2 separate regions of the Homo sapiens genome follow, and region 1 is linked to region 2. Evidence: promoter capture Hi-C in 16 types of primary human blood cells and fetal thymus (Javierre and others, 2016). All regions are on one chromosome and are shown on one strand. Each heading gives the region's core, a stretch centred on a gene start or on the middle of the fragment in contact. The rest is flanking DNA. Distances are from core to core; before and after follow the strand shown.

What was found. Contacts are between HindIII fragments. The CHiCAGO score rates a contact against its expected background, and 5 or more counts as called.
Region 1: a fragment that was not itself captured here is called in contact with the fragment with the promoter of MED27 in region 2 in 1 of 17 cell types (endothelial precursors); the score reaches 5.8 in endothelial precursors.

The regions. Positions count from the first base shown.
Region 1 is chr9:131,876,224-131,880,923 of GRCh38, reverse strand. The region is part of intron 6 of MED27 (mediator complex subunit 27); the gene reads left to right. Among named protein-coding and RNA genes, the nearest start is that of RAPGEF1, 140 kb to the right of the region's middle. RefSeq lists an enhancer at 3,696-4,196. The HindIII fragment of the contact is 1,378 bases long and covers 652-2,029 here.
Region 2 is chr9:132,077,224-132,081,447 of GRCh38, reverse strand. MED27 (mediator complex subunit 27) reads left to right here and starts at 1,581. Exons shown (of 8, transcript NM_004269.4): 1 at 1,581-1,806; 2 at 3,862-4,006. The coding sequence starts at 1,604. RefSeq lists an enhancer at 1,405-1,684. The HindIII fragment of the contact is 6,112 bases long and covers 1-3,277 here.

The DNA.
Region 1 (4,700 bases), core at 91-2,590, 200 kb after region 2:
ATGTTTTTTTTTTTTAATGTTCTTGTAGTATTAAGTATTTTTTAATGCAAGCAGAAAGTGTATTAGGAAGTTGTAAAATGTATAAAACACAGATTTGGTGAAGCATAGATTTAGAAAGACAGTACTGTATTTTTATCCTACCTCCCTTGAAAATAACCTGCCAGGCACTCTTTGTATTTATTTAAAATTACAAACACACTCTGAAGCAGAAGTGTTTAAAATTTGATATTAGTCTAGTTGGAGAGATTTAGGAGCATCCGCCAATTCCTTCCTTCCAGTCTGTGTAACACGTTTCAAGTAGTAAAAATTGATGAATTCTAAGGGATGGGAATTTTATCTCACTGGTGAGTGGCATATCATGTGTATTTGTGCAGAAGCCTTTCTGAGATTCCTTTATCATCGCTCCTTTCACCTATTATTAACTAAGTGGACTTAACCTCTGATATTGACCTGTACCAGATTAAAGAACCACAATTGGGAGAGGTGGTAGTGCCTTCTGATTACAACTAAAGGCAGATAACATTGAAGTCCTTTTTTTTCAGGGACAAGTAAGAATTAAATTAGTGAGTCCTCTCTCTTCCTAACTAAAATGTCTTCCATTTGCTGTCAAATGAAGGAAACATATTGGAAAATAATGTACAGAATTAAGCTTAATCCTTTATCAATAAAGCCTTCAACTAATCATCATCACACAGAATGAGTTTGGGATCTTGTTAGAAAAAAAAAAAGCCTGTTTCTGTATCACTGAGCTTGTGGGAGATGGCGGTAGAAAGCACGAAGCATGCGCGGTGTAGCCTCCATCCCAGGGCGGTGACTGGCGTGCCTATTTCGTCGTGTTCATCTCAGTGGCCAGCAGGTAGACCTCCCTGTGCCACTGCCAGGCCCTGCACTACGTGCAGAGGTGGGACCACGTTGTCCTTTGCAGATTCAGAGACCTGGCACAGTTTATGGGGTGACGTTAAGTATTTCAAACCTAAATCACCAAAAGAGAAGGATTCGGTGGCAACGTTTCTAAACTCCGCTTTTTAGGATTTGCTATTCCTCAAGATTCTATTTTCCTCCTGTCCACCCACTTATATATGGGGTGTCATGATTGATGTTGCTTGTAGTGTTTCCCAGAAAGACGCTGTTTGGGAGCACTGCGGCAGACATCTTCCACCTGCTCTGCCTGTTTGCACCCAGCCAAGTCGACTGGCGAGGGTGGGGTTCGTTCCCAGCATCATCCAGAAAAGCTCAGCCTGCAGCAGTGGCATGAAGTGCATTGGGGAGCAGCATGACATGCTGGAGGATGCTCCTTGGTCATCAAGAAGAGGAGATTGCTCAGGCTGAAGATAGTACCCAGATGTCCTGACAGTGGTGGGAGGTGCCACAGCTATGCCCACCTCTGAGATGGGAGTTCTGGGCCACCAGCAGCAGCTCACATGGCATTAATGGAGGAATTCTCCTCCTGCTCTAGCTGAGGTAGAACCGCAGAGCTCCCTCTCCTAGGCCTTCATTATGTGGTTGCAGTCACTGTGTTAGGCCTGTTTTCTTGCCCACAAGAAGCAGCTGTGGCCAGCCCAGAACGAGGGAAAGCAGAACTCGGAAAGCAGGAAGCCACGCCCCCCACCCGTGCCCACCCTGAGGTCTCCTTCAGTGTGACAGGGTAGGGGGATTGCCTTGCAGAGCCAAACCAAGCTAACACTCACCTTTTTATTTCTGGCAAACAATGTCAGGAGGTAGGAGAATGGAAGCATGCCCTTGTCACATTCTCTCAGGCCCGTGCCTGACCCGCTGGCTTACAGCCTGAGCACCTGAGCTTCTGTAGCAAATCCCACCACAGGAAGCAAAATTCTGCCTTCCTTTTGTCTGCAGATGTTCATGCCATCAGCAAGCCCTTTTCACTCTTCCTCATTAGACCCCTTACCCAAGTGTGGAAGTAGCAGAGGGCTGGGGACAGCTTGCTATGGGTCTATGGCTGCTAACAGGTTCCCATCATTTACTGTGGTCCCTGGAGGCTCCTTGCACTTGGTCCTAGGGTGAAGAAGCTTTTTATAGCCAGCAAGTCTCCAGCAGAGTAGATTCAGAGAATGGGACTTAGAAATGGGCGGGGTGGGGGCGGGTGACCATCTGAAAGGGCAGAATCACAAAGAGCCAGGAAAGGTTTCAAGCGTGTTCATATTTTTCTGACATTTAAACTCTGCAGGGGCAGCCACTGTTTTGTTCTTTAACCCCCTCATTTCAAAACTCTGTGCATTTTCATCCAGCAATTTAGGGAGAGTAAGAGCAGACCGACAGCTACTCACTGCATTGTCTTGCTAGGGTGGCTGGAGAGAGAGGTGGAGTGTGTGTACCACCCAGGTTAGGCAGGGGACATCAAGAGAGAGGCCAAGAGGGACCCACACACACTTTGCAGCTTTCTCATCAGAGGTAAGGGACAGCATGAAAGTAGCCCGCAGATGTCCAGCTCTCCATCCACAGTCATTGCAGAGGGATGAGTAACCCTTTCAGTTCTGCACCGTCTGAACTTTTAGCTGTGAGCAAATGGATTGTGCATGGTGGGTCATGTTCTGGGCAGGGTGCCGCTTGCTTCTTCATTCCTTTGTTCATTTATTAGTTGATTATTTTTATTTTATTTATTTATTTATTTATTTATTTATTTATTTATTTTTGTAATGGAGTCTCGCTCTGTTGCCCAGGCTGGAGTGCAGTGGTGTAATCTCAGCTCACTGCAACCTCCACTTCCCAGGTTCAAGCAATTCTCCTGCCTCAGCCCCTAAGTAGTTGGGATTACAGGCATGCGCTACCATACCCAGCTAATTTTTGTATTTTTGTAGAGACGGGGTTTCACCGTGTTGGCCAGGCTGGTCTTGAACTCCTGATCTCAGGTAATCCACCTGCCTCGGCCTCCCAAAGTGTTGGGATTATAGGCATGAGCCACCGCGCCCGGCCTGTTCATTCTTTTTAATATGCAAGACTGGCCCCTAACTGAGGCAGACTTGATCAAGGTCTGTTTACTCGGTGGCCACCAGGTGCTTTTCAGTAAAAGAGATTGAGTCAGCCCTAGAAGACTCAGTTCTCTGAAAAGTGGGTGGACACCTGATATTGCGTTGGTGGGTACGTGGAGTACCTAGCGTAAATTGACTACCAACCCCAATAGTATTCAAAAATCCTAACCTATCGCTCATTCCAACTCCTAGGGAAGGAAACTGTTTCAACATGGGATCATTCCCCAGGGATTGGAACCGTCACCCTCCTCTGAGTCAGGTTGTGCTGCACACCTTAGTTGGGTGTGTGGTGCCGCTGCAGTGTTTCACACCACTAAAGAGGCTCCATAAACAGTCATTACATTGTTTTATTTATTTATTTGAGACGGGGTCCCACTCTGTCGCCCAGACTAGAGTGCAGTGGTGTGGTCTCGGCTCACTGCAACTTCCACCTCCCAAGTTCAAGCAATTCTCCTGCCTCAGCCTCTCGAGTAGCTGAGACTATAGGTGTGCACTGCCACACCCAGCTAATTTGTGTGTGTGTGTGTATTTTTAGTAGAGACAGATTTTCACCATGTTGGCCAGGCTGGTCTTGAACTCCTGACCTCAAATGATCCACCTGTCTCAGCCTCCCAAAGTGCTGGGATTACAGACGTGAGCCACTGTGCCCAGCCGCGTTATTTTCAGTTTCTAACATTTCCTCCTACCAGCCTCCTCTACATTTCCTTCCCAAAGCCTCTCTTCAAATGCCACAGATGAAGGCCTGGAAGAGGCCATGGTTGTGACAAAAGTTCTAAGACCTCAGGCCAGATCTCAGTCCCATTCCCTGTTCGGTGCCCTGCACAGGTGAGACCCCCACACTCAGAGGGACTCCACAGCTGGGAGCTGCCTCCCAGAGTCGTTGAAGGCCCTTCTGTCTTTTATAGATCTCAGCCCTCTGACCATCTCCCCGCCTCTTAAATGGTGATTAACTTTTTCCAACAGGGAGAACTTATGTTGTAAGGACAGAATGTGGTGTCATTTTCATCTGTTTCTGTGCGTTCTGTTGCTGCCTCACAAGTGTGTCCCAAACAGATAGAACTGAGGGGACAGCTTTCATCCTTGCAAAGGGAAATGGGCCGCTTCATGTAGCAAGACAAAGTTCTGTCCATGACTCCGATGAGTGGTATGCCCAAGAGATTTGTGCGTGAGCCCGCTAGTGGGCTGGCGACAGGCTTCAGGGAAGGAGCGGCGGCAGACGGTCCCAGGGCATCCCTGAGGGCAGCCCTTCCCTCAGCTGACAGCTGGACTGTATTGACCAGGTCGCCAAGCAGAAGCATCGGCGCGGGGCTCTGGGAGCTGAGAGCCGCAGGGAGGGTCGTTAGGCTTAATCCAACAGTCGAAAACCCTTTTACCGCCACCTTCTCTCTTAATGGTCTTGTTTGAATATTCATAAGCATCTAAACTAAACTCAGGACAGATTTGATCATTTGTTCTCCTCTTACGCCGCCCCAGTACCTTTCCTGCACAAGGCTCCCTCAGCCCCTGCTGAGTGTGAGCATGGCCCAGGAGCTCACATGAACCCAGTTTTATGGCTAAAATTGAACCAGGAAAGCCTGGGCCATCCTGTTGACTTTCTGAGGGCACGCTGCGTTGCCCTGGAAGTGGTCTGTGGCTTTCTGCCATTAGAGGAGTCACAGAGTAGTCATCTGTCATCTGTATAGCTTGTTTCTTCCTGAAGGGTTGTGCGGGCTG
Region 2 (4,224 bases), core at 332-2,831:
GCTGGTGTCTGCCATGTTTCTCCACTGTGAAGTCACTATTAAGTCACTATCCATCCCCCCTTATGTTTACATTAATGAATTGTTTAAAATTTTTTGGTAAAATATACATAATATAAAATCAACCATTTTCACTGTTTCTAAGTGTCCAGTTCTGTGGCATTAAGTACAATCACATTGTTGTATGGCCATCACCACCATCCAGCTGTAAAACTTTTCCAAGTCTGTACTCTTTAAGTACAGACTTAAATATGGCCCTTTGCAATATTATGCTGAAATCTTCCTCTCTACAGCCTTCCTACAACTGGTTATTGTTATTGCCACTAGTTAACCAAGGAGGACTCTTGTCTTGGGTTGACATGAAGGTGAGTTGAAGGTCACAATCATGATCTGCCTCCTGCTCTCCTCTTCTCTGCTCCAAGCTATGCAACCCCAGCTCCTCTAAGGAAAGAACATGAGGACTTGGGCAGGTTCCCTTTAGTAAAAAGATAATAAATTTTCAGAAACCTGTCTATAGCCAACAGGACAAAGAGACATTGAATTTTTCCATAAAGCCAGATTTGGCCAACATTTTGTTGGTTTTATTTAAATCCCAAACCTTCTCTTTCTTCCACAACCTCTATGCTATGTATGTTATTTTCAGAGGTGTGTGTTCACTGTAAACCAGCCACCATTCTACTTTCTGTCTCTAACATTTTGACTACCCTAAACACCTCATATAAGTGGAGTCACACAGAATTTTGTTTTTTTGTGACTGGCTTATTTCACTTAGCATAATGTCTTCAAGTTTCCTCCAGGTAGCATATGTCAGAATTTTCTTGCTTAAGCCTGAAGAATTTTTCATTGTATGCCAGTATCACACTTTGTTTATTCATCAGTTTATGGACACTTGGGTTTCCCCTGCCTTTTGGCTATTTGGTGAATAATGCTGTTATGAACATGTGTACAGGTATTGAGTCCCTGCTTTCGCTTCTTTTGGGTATATGCCCAGAAGTGGAATCTCTGGATCATTATTTTCCTCTTCTTAATTAATAAGCATCTTGGGGGACGATACTTTGAGATTACCTAAAAAGCCTGTTATTTTTCTGACACTTTCACCCACTAGTTTTAGCATCCATCGATTTCTATCTGAATCAATTATTCTAATGGCTGTCAAATGGCAATTTTCTAATTCCATCACTCTTTCTGCATTTATGAGCTGGCATTCTATTGGAAAGAAGAAACTTTCCTTCTCCCCGCTTTATTTATGAATATGGACTCATTTTATTGAATGGGCTATGTTCCTTTCCTTTTTACACTATTGCTCTGAGCAATTCTTTTCCCTATGATTCCCCAGAGTGCAAGTTTGGGGAAATGCGGGAACTTTCTGTATTTCTTTGTCACCATTAAGCAAACCGGGAGTGCAACCTGACTTCCCCAAGTTGAGAAAAATCACTTTCCTGCCCATGCATTAGTTTAGCTCAAGGGGAAACCCTTTTTCGAAAGTGCTTTCTGGGTAGCCCCGCGCGAACTGCATTTCCCAGAGGTCTTCGGAGATACGTCATCAGCGAGCGCGGCTTTTTTGCTTGCGAAGCCGGCTTTGGAGAGCTGCTGTGGCGGCGGCAACATGGCGGACGTGATAAATGTCAGTGTGAACCTGGAGGCCTTTTCCCAGGCCATTAGTGCCATCCAGGCGCTGCGCTCCAGCGTGAGCAGGGTGTTCGACTGCCTGAAGGATGGGATGCGGAACAAGGAGACGCTGGAGGGCCGGGAGAAGGCCTTTATTGCGCACTTCCAGGACAACTTACATTCGGTCAACCGGGACCTCAAGTAGGTACCGGCTGAAGGGGCCGGGGTCGGGGACCGGCCCCGCTCCGACCCTGCCCCTACGTCGCTCGAGTCTTCCCAGGCAGGGGCTGTTCTCCGTTTCCCTTGATCCCTGTTCTTTCTCTTCTTGTTCTCCAAGCCTCTGCCTGTCCCTCAGGGACATCTTAACACCATCCCCGCTTTCTCGTCTTGCTTCTCCTGGCCTCCTGGTCCTGTTTGTCTTCCGCCATCCTCGACCTCTTCTGTGGCGGTTCCATTCCTAACAAGGAGGCATGCTTTTCCCATGAACTTCCACTTCTCTGAGCTTGGCAGGTTTCTCACCTGTAGGCCCTCTGTGCCCCATCACGTCTGATCCGAATGTAGTAATAGTACAGACAGGACCTGGTCAGTCGGCTCCAAACCCAAGTGCACCCGATCTGATTAGCCCCAATTCCCCGGCCCTGAACTTGGACTTCATCAGTTCCACCACCACCCACCCGCAACCACGACGGACCGGCCAGGCCTTGAGCTGTCTTCACCTTTTCCCCTAACCGCTCCCAAACCACCTGATCAGTTTCCTCACTCCCACTCCTGTGGGAGTTCCTTCCGCAGTAGAGACCTACTCTCTAATCTCTTAACCAGTTTAATTACTTATGCTTAACGCCCCTGCTTCTTAATTTGTAGTCTTTTAGGGTTAAGGATTCCACTTTTCCTCCTCTTCCTTACAAAGTACCTTCTTCACTTACACTTTTTAAGTGTTGTAAGAATTAAATGAGAGGATGTTTGTAAAGGGCCTGGCACATAGTAGGCACTTCTTGATTGCTTAGGTCCTGAACTTGCCTTCTGTTTTATAAGAGAGTCAGTCCTTCCCAGGAAGGTTAGAATTTCAGGATTTTTGCCTTTTACTTCTCAGAACTGACCTGAGTAGGGGAAAGCATTTGGTGAGCTAGTCATCCTTTGATTTCTGGACTGGTTGGATTTTTGTTTTTTCAACTTGGTCTCCTTAGTAACCAGATGGAAAGAGGAGGTAGGATGGAGGAGGAGGAGGAGGAGGTGGCCAAATGATGGGTGCCTTTTTGTTTTCCCCCTAAGTAGTTGCCGTAAATCACACAGCCCTCCTCAACGCCCACATCCGCTTGCTGTTCTCTGGCACCGCGCCGAGCACCAGTTAATACTTTCTCTGCTTCAGGGGATGCACTGGCTATTCTTCCCTATCTTCTGTTTTCTTTCCATTTTCTCTCCGAGTTACTTCCCTTTGTAATGTTCAGGATATTATAACCCTTCACCATTTTAAATAGAAACTTTAAGAGTGCTGACATTATCCTTTTGCCTTCTTAAATCTTTGTACAGTAGTGCCAAGAAGAAGGTGGCTGATGATTCCAAAATGAATGTGGCATAAGAAGCTGTTCCTAGAGAGTCTTTTGTTGGCAGTTTGGGACTGGCCCCTCAGAACGTACTCCTGGAATGTGCTCTTGTTGGCTCGCTTTCCCAAGCTTCTCTAGGGTTTTCCTGCTAGACTGAAGTGTGTTTGTTTGACACAGCCACCTCAGTGGTGTCTTCCCATTCCATTTGTTTATTTTATCTCTTCTTTGTTTTGTTAAGTTTTACCATCTGTGAAGCATCATGTACAAATCTATCCCTATGTGAATGATAAATAATCATCATTTAATCAGGTACTTGCTGTTCTGCCAAGTGTAATGATCTGCACGTGGGTCTGAAAACTCTTAGTGAGAGGCAGTGTTATACCACATTTCAAAATTCCAGAAAGTCTCCTCCCCACTGCAGGGATGAATTTGAGTTGTTAATTTCTGATTATGGGGGTCTTATTGATTCTACTGCCCTTACCTTTTTTTTCCTCCTTTGGAATGGCACCAGAAGCTCTGTTTTAAAGTCAGATAAACTCTCATTTAGGGTTTTTTTTTTTAAGTGTCCCAAGTATTTTTTAACCTTTCAAAAAGTATTTCTTCTTAAGGGACTTCTGATGGATGGTTTGAAGAGCAGTCTTTGATCCTGGGGGCTGGCTTTACCCTGGAGTGTAAATGGGCTTAGGTTTATTTGCCTTGTCTCTTTGCTTTTCAGTGAGCTGGAACGTCTGAGCAATCTGGTAGGCAAGCCATCTGAGAACCATCCTCTTCATAACAGTGGGCTGTTAAGCCTGGATCCTGTGCAGGACAAAACTCCTCTCTATAGTCAACTCCTTCAAGCATATAAGTGGTCAAACAAGGTAAGGGAGATGTAATAAACGGAGCTAATATATGGAAAACCAAGTTTTCTTATATTCCATACATGCAGAAAGCAAGAGTATGTTTTTATTGCTTTTTATGTTCTTGATTCAGCATGGGGTTATAGAGTTGGAAGTTGTAGAATTTTTCTGTAACCTATTTTGTAGTCCTTTGAAGTCTTTGGGGATTCATGATGTTCAGGTGATTACATGTTAAAAAT